2 separate regions of the Homo sapiens genome follow, and region 2 is linked to region 1. Evidence: promoter capture Hi-C in human tissues and cell types (Jung and others, 2019). All regions are on one chromosome and are shown on one strand. Each heading gives the region's core, a stretch centred on a gene start or on the middle of the fragment in contact. The rest is flanking DNA. Distances are from core to core; before and after follow the strand shown. Region 1 holds the start of PLEKHA7 (pleckstrin homology domain containing A7). Region 2 overlaps PLEKHA7 (pleckstrin homology domain containing A7).

Region 1 (7,013 bases), core at 2,227-4,726:
TCAGAAGTACAATCACCTGCCACAGGGCCCTGCCTTTGAGGGTAGGGAACACTGTCACACATTGCTTTTTCTAGGCCTGGGAGGAGTCAGCCAAGGCCCTGGGGGCACAGGAGCTCACTGTAGGAAAATCATTAGGGACCTCACAGACAAGTTACCATGGAAGAGTCAGCAAAGGTGTGGAAGGCTGTGCTCCAGCCTCCAGAGTCCCACACGCGGCCTCACACACCCAGCCCAAGGCTGCACCTGGTACTTTGGGACACTTGCAGCCCTTCCTCCCGCCAAATGAATGATGGGCCCTGCCCCTGGGTGACGCTAGTGAGATGCAGGCCATGGATCCCATCCCTCTCACCTTCTTAGAAACACTGCTCCAGCAACTGCCCCGTCTCTTTACTGCAGCATCGACTTCTTCCTCTCAGTGGGATCATTCCCATCAAAACAAACATGCTGTACAATCTCCCACCAAAAAAAAGAACCCTCCCTCAAACCCACATCCTCTCCAATTACCGGCTAATGTCTCAACTCCACTTTGCAACAAAACTACCTGGAAGATTTGCCTAACTGACTCCCTGTCTTCACCCCGTGTTTTATCTTCCACCTACTCCAGTCAGATTTTGTCCTTTAAGGCTTCTGTGACCATGCATTCTCCTGGGGTTTCTCCTACCTTCTCAGTCCTTCTCAGTCTCCTTGCTGGCTTCACCTCTCACCCCTCTAAACACTGCTTTGACCATCCAAAGCCTCAGAACATCTCTCTTCTGTCTGTACTCTCTTCCTAGGGGATTTCATCTAATCCCATGGCCTTGAATAACATCTATTATACCCAATGGGTCTCTTCTGTCCTCTCTCCCCACCAAGCTTCAGATCACACTATCTGACATACTCATATCTCAAATGTAAGATGGCAAAACAAGATCTCATGATTCTCCTCCACCCCAAACCGGCTCTTCCCATCTCAACGATATGAATGCTATCCACTCAGGTGCCCAAGCCCTGAGGAGTCATCTTTGCCTCTTCTCTTTCTCCCACAGACTATTCAGTCCATCATGAAGGTGTGAAGAGCCTATTTCCTAAACACAGCCTGAATGTGACCACTACTCCCTGTCTACTGTGCTACCACCCTCAGGCAAGCCACTTCTAACTCCTGCCTGGAAGAGGGCAACAGCCTCAGCTGCTCTCCTGCCTCCCCCTGCAGTGGCCACCTACAATCCAATCTCCTCACAGTGATCGTTCTAAAAACACACACCAAATCATGCCATTTCCCTGCTTAAAACCCTCCAATGACGTTTCACTGGGCTTAGAATAAAGTATGAAAATTCCTCACCCCGGCTCACAAAGCTTTGCGGCATTTACCTTTCTCCTACCTGTGACCTCTCCTCATGCCACTTTCTCCCTTGTGCACCACATTCCAGCCTTCCTGCTCCTTAAACTCCAAGCTCTTTTCTGCCTTAAGCCCTTGCCCTGGCTGTTCGCTCTTCCCGAAATGCTTTGCCAACTCATCATCACATGATGTCTCCTTCTTGTCATTCAAATTTTACTTTAAATGTTGCCTATTCAGAAACACCATCCCGATCTCCCAGTACAACCAAGCCACCCAGTCACTCCATGTCACATCACCTTATTTTAACTTTCTGCACAGTAGTAACCACGATCTGATATTATTATTTGTGTTTTTTACTTATTTTCTACTCCCTTCCCTCTCCTATTAGATTGCAAGCTCCATGAGCACCTAGAACTTTTCTGTTTTTTGTTCCCAATGCCTAGAACAACGTGTGAACGTGTGGCACACAGGAAAATTGTAATAACATCAACTGATGCAGTTATGAGCCAGAGAGGCCCACTGACAGCAAGACTCTGATGGCCCCAGCCAACTCCCCAACTTCACATACACACATATGAGGCAGGGCAATAGAACCGCAGCAAGGCCCTAGTCCTTAGGTCTGTAAATCTCACCCATCAGTATTTTCAACTATTATGCAAGAACCCAAACCAGAAAAGGAGGTTCCGGGGTTTTCTTGAAATAGGCTGCTTTATTCCTAACAGTAGTAGTTCTGACTCACAGTCGCCGAGGTACACCCAGTCAGTACTAGTCAGACCACCGTCCAGACCTTTGGCGAGCTGATTCATTCAGTGAACAAACATTTACCGAGTGCCTACTTGCTGTCCGGCACTGGGGCAAGGGGTCAAAGGCAGTGTCTGGCCTCCCGGAGCTCAGCAGGCAGAGGGAAACACGCTGCAACACAGACTCCCGCCGGAGTGGGAAAGCAAAGCCTGTACTGGCATAGGAGCCTGACCCGCGCCTTCACTTACTGCGCCCCAATCTGACATGGACTGATCCTACAGACCCAGGGTAACCTGGCTGGTGCGCCAACACTCCGGGGCTTTTGCGGAAAAGTCGCCCGTGGACTAACGGAAGCACCAGCAATCCCCCGGTTCAGCTCCGGCCGAAGAGACGCGGAGCGCTCGAGGAAAGTCATTGGTTGACCAGTTCCCTTCCCCACCCCCTCCCTCCCCGCAGGCCCGCGCAGTGGATGGAGGCCGGGGGCGAGGTTCCGACTCTCCAAGACCATCCCAGAGCCTGCGGCGGGAGAGGGGGCGTCCTCCTAAGCGAGATTCCCCTAGTCTCTCCCTCTCCCCACTCCAACCCCGCAGGCCCACACCAGGACAGAACTTCTCGTTCTACTCCTCCCACCCGAGCCCATCCAGGTCCCGGCACTCGCCTCTCCCGGCGGGGCGCAGCCCCAGACCCTAGAGGGGAGGCGTGCCCAGCCCGCACACCAGCACCCGAATCCAGCCGGATTGCAAGGTCCAGGGCGCAGAGTCTGCGGCCTCTTCCCCCCCGGCCCAGGTCCCCAGCGTAGGTGCGGCCCCCACCGCCTTCCTCTCGGAGGCCGCCAAACAACTTGGGCACACAAAACGTTGAGTGTGGCCGCGGCGCAGCGCGCGCCAACGAGCCCGGGCCGGCGGGAGCAGAGGAAGGGCGGGGCGCCCGGCGGGAACGGGGAGGGACCCCCCCCCCGCGGCACAGGTGCGAGCGCGGCGGCCCCACTCACTCACTCGATGAAGTAGCTGGCGCCCTCCTCCGTGAAGCCCTCCTCCCAGCCGCGGGGCAGGTCTGCGGAAACGCCAGAAAAGTCGGGTCAAACTTGGGCCGCCGCTGCGCGCGCCCCCCACCCGCCGGCCCGGCGCCCACCTGAGCGGATCATGTGGCCCGAGTTGACGGGCTCCCCGGTGCGCGGATGCAGCCAGGTCGTGCAGCGGAGCTGGTCACTGCGGGCAGAGAGGTGCACCTGTTAGCGCCGCCACAGCCCGCCGGGTGCCCGCCCGGCCCCCGCCCCCGCGCCCCCACCCGCGTCCCCGCGTCCCCGGGTCCTCGCGCCGCACTTGATGAAGAAGACGCGGCCATCCCGGCACACCCCGTAGGACCAATGCTCAGGTAAAGTGTCCCGCCCGACCGTCGCCGCCGCCATGTTCGCCGAGCGCGGAGCCGCCGCGGGGTGGGGGGGAGGGGGCGGGGGCGCGGGCAGGGGCGGAGGCGGGGGCGGTGGCGGGGGCTCGGCCTGCGCGTGGCCCGGCGGCGCCGCGAGGCGCTCCATCCAGGCGCGGGCTCCTGAGGGAGCGACCGCCCGGCCGGGTCCTGGCGCCCGGAGTTCGCAGCCGCTCCGGCCAACCCAGCGCAGTGCCCGCGGCCTTTGTCCCCGAGCCTTCCCCGCCCCCAGCCTGCTGGCACCGGCGCTCCCCTTTGCCCCCGAGGCCGGGAGACCCGGGCGGCGCGGGGGGCCGCTGGCGGGGGCCGCTGGCGGGCGCGCCTGGGCAGCTTCGGGGCGCGCGGTTGGACCCGACCAACTCCGAAAACGGCGAGCGCCCGAACGCTCAGTAAACCCCAGCCGACCCGCACCACAGAACTTCCCGACCCGGGAACTCCGCTTGTGTGTGAACCAAGTTAACACTCAGGTTCCTGCCATATTCCCAGCCTCCTTCTCTTCCCCTGTAAGGTTAATCGAGTCCACACGGGATTGTTGTGTAGATTAAATGAAGTAACAATCGCATAAAGTGCTTAACCGGACCATGGCATGTAGTAGGTGCTCTATCAACGGCAGGCCGAGCGCGATTTCATTTTCCCAAGTTTTCAGCTGGGATGTGAAACAGGAGGGAGCAGGGTTACCGCCACACACCACTGAGGTTGCAGGGATCGCAAGCTCTTGCCTTCAGTTTCTGTCAAGTAACAGAAAAAAGGGGTTTTGAGGGCTCGGCAGCACGTCCATCTCTGGAAGAGCGGTGGCCAGGCGGGGCCTCTAGGGGGCCCTGCAAAGCTCTTTGCAGTGGCGGCACCCTCTCATATTCGGGTCTTTACTCCTATCTTATCTCCTCGGGGAGCCCTCCCTGAGCCCTCTGCAAAGAAAATCCTTCCCCTCCTTCCCTCGCTATTTCATTACTTGTTTACATTTAATTGATATTTGTGTTTGTCTTGTTTGTTGTATATTAGTTCCAACATGTCAGCTGGATGAGAGAAGGGGCTTTGATCTACCTCATACACTGCCTGGTCTCCAATGCCTGGAACAGCACCTGACTCATGTATGCATTACGCATTCAATAACTGTAGGATGGGGTGGGGCACGGTGGCTCAGGCCTGTAATCCCAGCACTCTTGGAGGCCGAGGCGGGTGAATCACTTGAGGTCAGGAGTTCTATTCCAGCCTGGCCAACATGGTGAAACCCCGTCTCTACCAAAAAAATACAAAAGCTAGCCGGGCGTGGTGGCGGGCGCCTGTAATCCCAGCTACTCAGGAGGCTGAGGCGGGAAAATCGCTTGAACCAGGGAGGCAGAGGTTGCAGTGAGCCGAGATCGCGCCGCTGCCCTGCAACCTGTGCAACAGCGAGACTCAGTCTAAAAAAAAAAACTGCAGGATGAGTGAATGAAACATACTCCACACTCAGACTCCCGGCCACACACACACACACACACACACACACACACTGAGCAAAGACAGAGCAGCAGCTGGGCTCCAGCTGTTGTCAGGCCCAGCCTTCTCGGGACATAGGCTCTGATTGATGGGAGGAGGCGCGCCTGAAAGTGAGACTGTATGCAATGTGAGCACTAGTTATTCAGAAAGGTGCCCAAACAGGTGGAATTAGGCTGGACCCTGAAGGACTGGTTAGGTTTGACTGGGAAAAGAGCACTCCAGAGGGGAGGGATGGGAGAGCATGCACATAATTTTGGGAGGGCTGTGAGATGTTGATGAGACCATAAAGGGGCCCTTCCTTGGGAACAGACAGTGGTGTTGGGGAAGGAGGCATTTATGAGTTAGAAGAGGTAACTGGTTGCAGAGGACGGGGGACACCTGTCTGAAGGAACCTCCTGCCTCTGAGGAGGTTGTTGAGCAAATGAAAATAGGAAAGCGGTGTTTTGCTAGCTAAACATTGATTTTAAATAATACATTAAATGGGCAAAGGGTATGAACCCACAGTTAATAGAAAAGTAATACAGATAACTTTTAAGCAAATGAAAAGATACTGAGCCACTTCATAATAGAAGAACTGCAACTTACGGTGAAATACTATTTTTTTAGATGTCAGATTGGAAAAGATAAATTAGAAAAGATATTGGCCAGGCGTGGTGGCTCACGCCTGTAATCCCAGCACTTTGGGAGGCTGAGGCGGGTGGATCGCTTGAGATCAGCAATTCGAGACCAGCCTGGCCAACATGGTGAAACCTTGTCTCTACTAAAAACACAAAAATTAACTGGGCATGGTGGTGCATGCCTGTAATCCCAGCTACTTGGGAGGCTGAGGCAGGAGAATCACTTGAACCCTAGAGGTGGAGGTTTCAGTGAGCAGAGATCACGCCACTGCACTCCAGCCTGGGTGACAGAGTGAAACTCTGTCTCATAAAAGAAAGAAAGAAAAGATATTGTAGAGAAAGACATTCTTGTTCATTGTTGATGGGACTTTAAAATGTTTGAGCCTCTTCGAAGGCAATTTGGCACAGCTATTCCAACCTCAATGTCTTGACCTAGCAATTTCATGTCAGGAATTTATCCTACATTAGTGCTTACATGGGGCACAAATTCCAGTGTACTAGAGTATTCACTGCAGCATTGTCAGTAATTACAAAGAACTGGAAATAACCTTAATGTCTATCAAAAAAGACCTGGTTGATTAAACTGGCACATTCCTCAACAACAACAACAACAAAAACAGAATGCTATGCAAGCTGTAAAAAAGAATGAGAATAGATCCCTACGTACTGATATAGAATGGTCTGTAAGATATTAAATGGGCCAGATGCAGTGGCTTGTACCTATAATCCCAGTACTTTGGGAGGCTGAAACATGAGGATGGCTTGAGTCCAGGAATTCAAGACCAGCCTGGGCAACATGGCAAAACTCCATCTCTACAAAAGATACATTAGCCAGGCATGGGGCGCATACCTATAGTTACAGCTACTTGGGAGGCTGAGGTGGGAGGATCACTTGAGCCCTGGAAGTTGAGGCTTCAATGAGCTATGATTGGGCCACTACACTCTATTCTGGGTGACAGAGCAAGACATCATCTCTAAATAAATAAATAAATAAAGTGAAAAGGCAGGCTACAGTACTGTGCATGTGATATGCTACTGTTAACATACAGATATAGTCCCTACACTGTCAAGAATCAGGTAAAGTGATTGCCTCTGAGGAGGGAAACTCTAATAGGAATGGTACGAGATTTACTTTACCTTGTTTCCCCTTTCATACTGTTTGATCTTTTTATCATTTAAAACATATACATATAGATACATAGAATAATACAATTCATTAATAGGTCCAATAAGAGACACACTGAAATTATCTCAATAAATGCCAAAATATGTAATCAATAAAACTCAATGCCTATCACTGATTTTCAAAATTATATGTTAGAAACTAAAATAAAAAATAGTGACAAAAGAGTATGCAGAGAAACTTTATGTCTCATACATTGCTAGTGGGATGTAAAATGGTACAGCCACTCTGAAGAATAGTTTGGCAGTTTCTTTAA
Region 2 (6,145 bases), core at 570-3,069, 76 kb before region 1:
AGGAGACAGTGTGACAAGAACAATAAACACATTCACCATGTGCAGAAACCAGGGAAAATGAGTTCTGAGACTATCTTTGCCAACCCCAGGTGTGGGCTTTCTTTTCCCTAAACTCAGGCGATATTGGAATGTAGCAGCTGTCAGAAAGCAGCAATGGCCTGTGCCAGAAATACCTTTGCTGAGCTGCTCTAATTGCCAAGAGATAAGAACCCATAACTCACACAGACACTTGTAGCTCTGGCTCAGAAACAGCAGGCAGAAAGGAAAGAGCATGCCTTCCAGCAATGTGACCTTGGGCAAGCTGTTTCCCTCCCCCTGAGCCTCAGTCTCCCTCATCTTTGAGGACTACCAGCAACATGTATCAAGTACCAATTACAGGATTGGATTTATAGCAGGTTAATAACCTGGAGTCGTTGTTATTAACAATCTCCAAATTGTTAATAACCGTGGAGTAAAATGAGCTTGGAGATGGCCACCAAGCTCTCTGGACAAGAGACAGTTTGCACGCTTGAAAGGGCCTTGATTTCCTGGGAAGACACTACAAGAATCAGTCACATAAAATCCCTGAATGCTTTGGCCTTATTCATTTGTTCTAACAAATATTTATTGAGGGTATACCATGTGCCAAGATTGTGCTGGGCACTGAGGACAATATGGCCCAAGTCTCATGAGGTATATAGTCTAGTAGAGAACACAAGCTTTCAAAATAATCATCTAAGCACATGAGAATGTACATCTATGATAAACACTACAGAAGAGAGGTATACGACCATCTGTATCATAGCCACCTAAATTGAGAAATTGGCCCAGTCTGAGGAGCCATATAATGAGGAGTGAATAAGACAAAGAAGAAAGTTGAAGAGGACCTTGTTTATAAGAAATTTAACTTAAAGAAACAAACTAGGAAGCACTTAGCTATCCCTTAACTAGGATGTTTTTCTTTTCTTTTTTTTTTTAGATGGAGTTTCACTTTTGTTGCCCAAGCTGGGGTGCAATGGCGCCATCTCAGCTCACTGCAGCCTCCACCTCCCAGGTTCAAGCGAGTCTCCTGCCTCAGCCTCCTGAGTAGCTGGGATTACAGGCATGCACCACCATGCCTGGCTAATTTTGTATTTTTAGTAGAGATGGTGTTTCTCCATGTTGGTCAGGCTGGTCTTGAACTCCCGACCTCAGGTGATCCACCCGCCTCGGCCTCCCAAAGTGTTGGGATTACAGGTGTGAGCCACAGCACTCAGACGATGTTTTTCTTTTCTAACAGTAAAATCCAGAAAGCTTACCCTGTTTCCTTCTTGTTTTGGCTGCCAGGAAGCTCCAAGTCAAATGTGCAGCTCAGCAGAAACACAGACCCTTAATGTGAGTGCCTTCGTATTCTTCCCAACCTCCTGGGTTTGTCCTTTTCCTCTTACTTATATTTTCCCTAGTCCTGATTTCAAATTCCTATTTCTATTTTATCATTGTATCTAGTGTTCATGGACCTTCAGAGGAAGGAGGCAGGATGCAAACACAAATGTTCTAATATTCTTCCTAAGGTTAAGGGGTTGAGATGGAAAGAATGAACAGGGTGCCCTTTGTGTCCCCTTGCTGGTGTGTTACCCTAGAAGCAGGGAAAGACACGTGGCTTCGTCTGCATTTATACAAATGGTGCATTCTGTTTGATTTGTGTGATCTAGAATGATGGTGCTTTTTCCCATAGCCCCTTTATCATGTATTTATGCCCCAACGAGTAGCTTTCCTTGTGCTCATTTTTTTCTCTGAAACATTTACTGGTCTATTAATACATTTAGTGAACTTACATTCTCAATATTCTAAGATAGGTGCCCCCCTCACTTTTTTTTTCAATTTTTCTCTTTTAATAAAGAAAATTCATTAAATGTGTAACTGAAGTTCTCCCTTTATACCTTTGAAAGGCATGATATATACATAAAAATCCTTAATCAGACCATACATCATGATTTTTGGATCAGAAAATAGTCACCTTCCTCCTATAGTGATTAACATTCACATGTTGGAAGGCCGAAAACAGAATAGAGATGAGAAAGAGATGTGGGAGAGACCATTTTTCAATGTGCAGTTTATCTGCACCTCATTAAAAAATAGAATGCTTTAGGAATAAAACATCCATTTCTTGTAAAAAACAACAACAACAATGTTCCTCTTCCTGGGAAAATGAAATTTTTGTAAATAATAATCAGACACAATTCAAGAAACCACAAACTGTGGCTCTTACCCTTCTCTGGTCCTTGCTTGAATAAAGCTTTGGACTGTCTTTCCCAGGAAAGAAATACACAAACACAATTTTTTACAATAATAAACACAATTTTGAATTTTAGAAGATTCAAAGATCTCCTAGAGGAATATTCATGAATTTCTTAGGCAGAATCTTCCTAAATGGAGCAAATACCTAAGGATGCCCAAGATCTTTGACAATGTGGCAAGAACATTTGAAAAAATATACTATAAGCTGGACACAGTGACTCCCTCCTATAGTCCCAGCGCTTTGGGAGGCTGAAGCAGGTAGATCATCTTGATGCCAAGAGTTCAGGACTAGGCTGGCCGACATGGTGAAACCCTGTCTCCACTAAAAATACAAAAAATTAGCCAGGTGTGGTGGTGCACGCCTATAACCCCAGCTACTTGGGAGGCTGAGGCAGGAGAATTGCTTGAGTCTGGCAGGCAGAGGTTGCAATGACCCGAGATCGTGCCACTGCACTCCAGCCTGGGTGACACAGCAAGGCTCTGTTATCTAAAGAAAAAAAATAAAAAGAAAAAATATACTATGAATATTAGCTATACAACATAGATAAAAGCTATGAAGATTAATTAAAATAATAGGAAATTTTAAAAATTTACGTATTTAGTTTTTATTGAGTCAATTTAAAGAAAAATACTACACGGGTATTGCAAAAATGCAGAGGTGAGACAGGAATGCTTAAAGTTAAAGAAATACTGCACAGGCAATGCACAGATTCTAGTTTTAAAACTATGCAGATGCTGTCACTCACAAAGTAAATCATTCAGGGCCACTGATTTTTTTCGTGTTTTCTCTCCTCATGTTCCCCAAACCAATTAGCTTGGCAACATACCCTACTCCACCCCAACAAGGCCTTCCTTCTATTAATGAGCCAGAGAATTTCTGGTTTGCTGCAAAGTTTATGAAGAGTGAAAGGGTGCCTTGGGATAGAAAATGTGTGTGGGGTGAAGGGACTGGGGACTCACCCTGAGCTCTCTGGGCAGAGGTAACAGACCAGCTGCATTTCACTGACCCCTAGATCTGATGAGACCCAGACATCACCATAGGAAGTGAGTAAGAAACCCAATGGTTCAGAGAATGGTACCACATTTGCCAAGCCAAAGCCAGGGCCACTGGTGCTGGGGGCAAGAAGGGTTAGCTGTGTGGATCTGTCTCCCTCTTCATAAACAATCAAAACTTTAACATTCCTATCTCCCCTACTGGGCTGTAACTTCCAGGGGAAGAAGTACCACTTGTGTCTTCTCAGCCCTGTGTCTCTGGCCCCTAGCACAGTGGCTGGCACATAGTAGGTACTCTGAAAAAATGGAAGAACTATTTTGGGGTAAGGGAAGAGAAGTATCTCAGATCTTTTCTTCTGCTGTTTTTTTTTTTTTTTTTTTTTTTGAGACAGAGTCTTGCTCTGTCACCCAAGGCTAGAGTGCAATGGCGTGATCTGGGCTCACTGAAACCTCTGCCTCCCAGGTTCAAGCAATTCTCCTGCCTCAGCCTCCTGAGTAGCAGGGACTACAGGCAGGTGCCACCATGCCTGGCTAATTTTTTTGTATTTTTAGTACAGACGGGGTTCCACCAGATTGGCTGCTGGTCTTGAACTCCTGACCTCAGGTGATCCGCCCGCCTCAGCCTCCTAAAGTGCTGGGATTACAGGCGTGAGCCACTGCACCTGGCCTCTTTTGTTTTTCTCTCTGGTGGCTAACAGATGCTTTGTACTAGTAGATGCTCAAGAAATGGTTCCTTTAAAAGTGAATAAACTGCCTGACATAACCAGTAAGTGTTCAAAAATGAAGATAATTACCTTTTTTTGTTTGTTTTTTTAAAGGACAAATGAATCCAACATAGTGCCTTTGTTTTTTCACTTTCCATAGGCAAGTACAGAGTGGCAAACAAAAGGGGAGGAGTGATGGAGCCCTGAATTAAAGCTGCCTGTGGCTTCCCCAGGGCTGTAGACAACAGGCCCAGTCCTCCCTAGCCAGGTGGCTCTGAAGTCATTTCTATCTATTCCATCCCCTAGGGAAGGAATTTTAGGGCTGAGTGTGACACCAAGAACCAGGTGCCCTCCACTCTCTGGATAAACGATTCAGTGAAGATGTGGCATGTCTTTCTCCAACTCAACCCTAGCACTTACCTCCAAGAAATAACTACACTCAGGAGAAGAAAAGTAGTAGAAGCGATGTCCAAGTGAGCTTCCCTTACTGGCTGGGTGAAGGAGGTGGCAAATCCCTGAGGTCACTCTTTGCTCTTCAAAAATGGGTACCCCTCCCTAGGGTGTCCTTACCCAGATGGGTCAAATGTTAATGAACAAAGGCTCCATAATCTCAGAGCTGGAAGCAATCCACAAGCTCAGGGCCCATCCCTTTATAATATCCCTGCTGACTGGTCGTCCAGCTTGGATGCCCCTAATGATGAGAGACTCATTATCTATCTTTGGGCTGCTCTATTGAACACCTGGATCTCTATTGTTTTTCTCTGAAAAGGAAGATGGTTTCCAAGGCACTCATGAACAACTTAGCTCATAGAAAGGGGCACCACAGGAGAATCTGGTTCAATTTCCCCTTCTGCCAGCCTAGTGACCTCTTAATTTAGAATCACTGACTCATAGAATTTCTAGAACTAGAAGCAATGGCAATAATAGCTAACATTTACAGAACACTTACTATGAGCCAAGTATATGCTAAGAGCTTTATAGGCATTATCCTATTTAATACAACATTTAATTCTCACACTCTCCTTTGAGCAAGGTATTATTTATTAGCTTTTTTATACATGAGGAAATGAAGCCTCAGTGAGTTTATGTAGCTTGCCCAAGATTATACCATGAAGAAGTGGGTGAGCTAGGAATAAAATCCAAAGTTTTGTACTTAAAACCTTAAAAAAACAGACTACTATGTCAAAACCTAATACATAAAGTAAAGCAGCATTATGTGTGAAGGCCCCTCAGCCAGTGCACAAGCATGGGTAATTATAAGCAACAAACACATCTTGAACTCCTCTGCTGAAAGCACCTCTCTCGAAGGGATTTCCACTGCCTTGTTCACTGCTGTACCCCAGTGTTGCTCCTGGTACATGGAAGCATAAATATTGCTAACTGAATGAATCCAGTGTTTACAGAGTGTTTACTCACGCGTAAGTTCTAAGGATCTTACATGTATTTGCTCAATTAACCCTCACCACAGGTTCTATGAAGCCCATTTTACAGACGAGAAAACTGAGGCACAGAGCACTCAAGTGGTGTTCCCAAGGTCACACAGCTAGTGATAGCGGAATTCAAATTCAAACTTGGGGGGTCAGATTTTGTGCCTCATTGACTATACAGAACCAATCCATTCCCTTAGAACAGGTCTAAGGAGAAAGACTTGAGGCCTGCAGGAGACGCCCTGAAGGCCATGTCAACAGCTAATGGCTGGGCTTCTACTATCAACCACTTCTGCATCCCTGACATCCTGCCTCTGGTTTTTCCTATTCTCCTCATAATCCTACTGTGAAGTAGACATTGGGGCCTTTAGCATCACCATTTTCAAGTTCACTGCTCTGAACTCCCAGGAATGCCACCATTTATAGAGAAACTCAATGACTAGCACCTACTTCAACTCAGCTGTTGCTGACGAGCTGACTCTGCTCTTCTCAGCCCTGCTGTGTGAGTTCCCAGCTGTGTCTCACACACTAGTATCCCAAACACCATCGGGGAAGAGAGTGAAGAAGCAGAGTGGCAGAGAGAAGGCCAAAGATGATAAGGAAGATTGTGAATGGTGCTTTCATCAGTATTTCATAGCAGTTTGATTCCAAGCCCACAGTTTAAAAATGAATTGCTGCGGCCGCTGTAAACTGCTGTCTTCTGGGCTTTGCAGCTCTGCAATAAAAATTCAATCTAAGCAAAGCAATTTCTCCACTTAGGCAACT

The links. Contacts are between HindIII fragments. The study calls those that stand out against the background at their distance.
Region 2: a contact is called between a fragment that was not itself captured here and the fragment with the promoter of PLEKHA7 in region 1, in 6 of the 25 tissues and cell types used here (H1 embryonic stem cells, heart left ventricle, liver and 3 more).

What each region holds. Positions count from the first base shown.
Region 1 is chr11:17,010,938-17,017,950 of GRCh38, forward strand. PLEKHA7 (pleckstrin homology domain containing A7) reads right to left here and starts at 3,477. Exons shown (of 27, transcript NM_001329630.2): 1 at 3,379-3,477; 2 at 3,188-3,264; 3 at 3,052-3,109. The coding sequence starts at 3,464. RefSeq lists an enhancer at 1,239-2,000 and a silencer at 1,885-2,179. The HindIII fragment of the contact is 16,980 bases long and covers 1,093-7,013 here.
Region 2 is chr11:16,936,671-16,942,815 of GRCh38, forward strand. The region is part of intron 3 of PLEKHA7 (pleckstrin homology domain containing A7); the gene reads right to left. Among named protein-coding and RNA genes, the nearest start is that of SNORD147, 14 kb to the left of the region's middle. The HindIII fragment of the contact is 5,345 bases long and covers 1-4,492 here.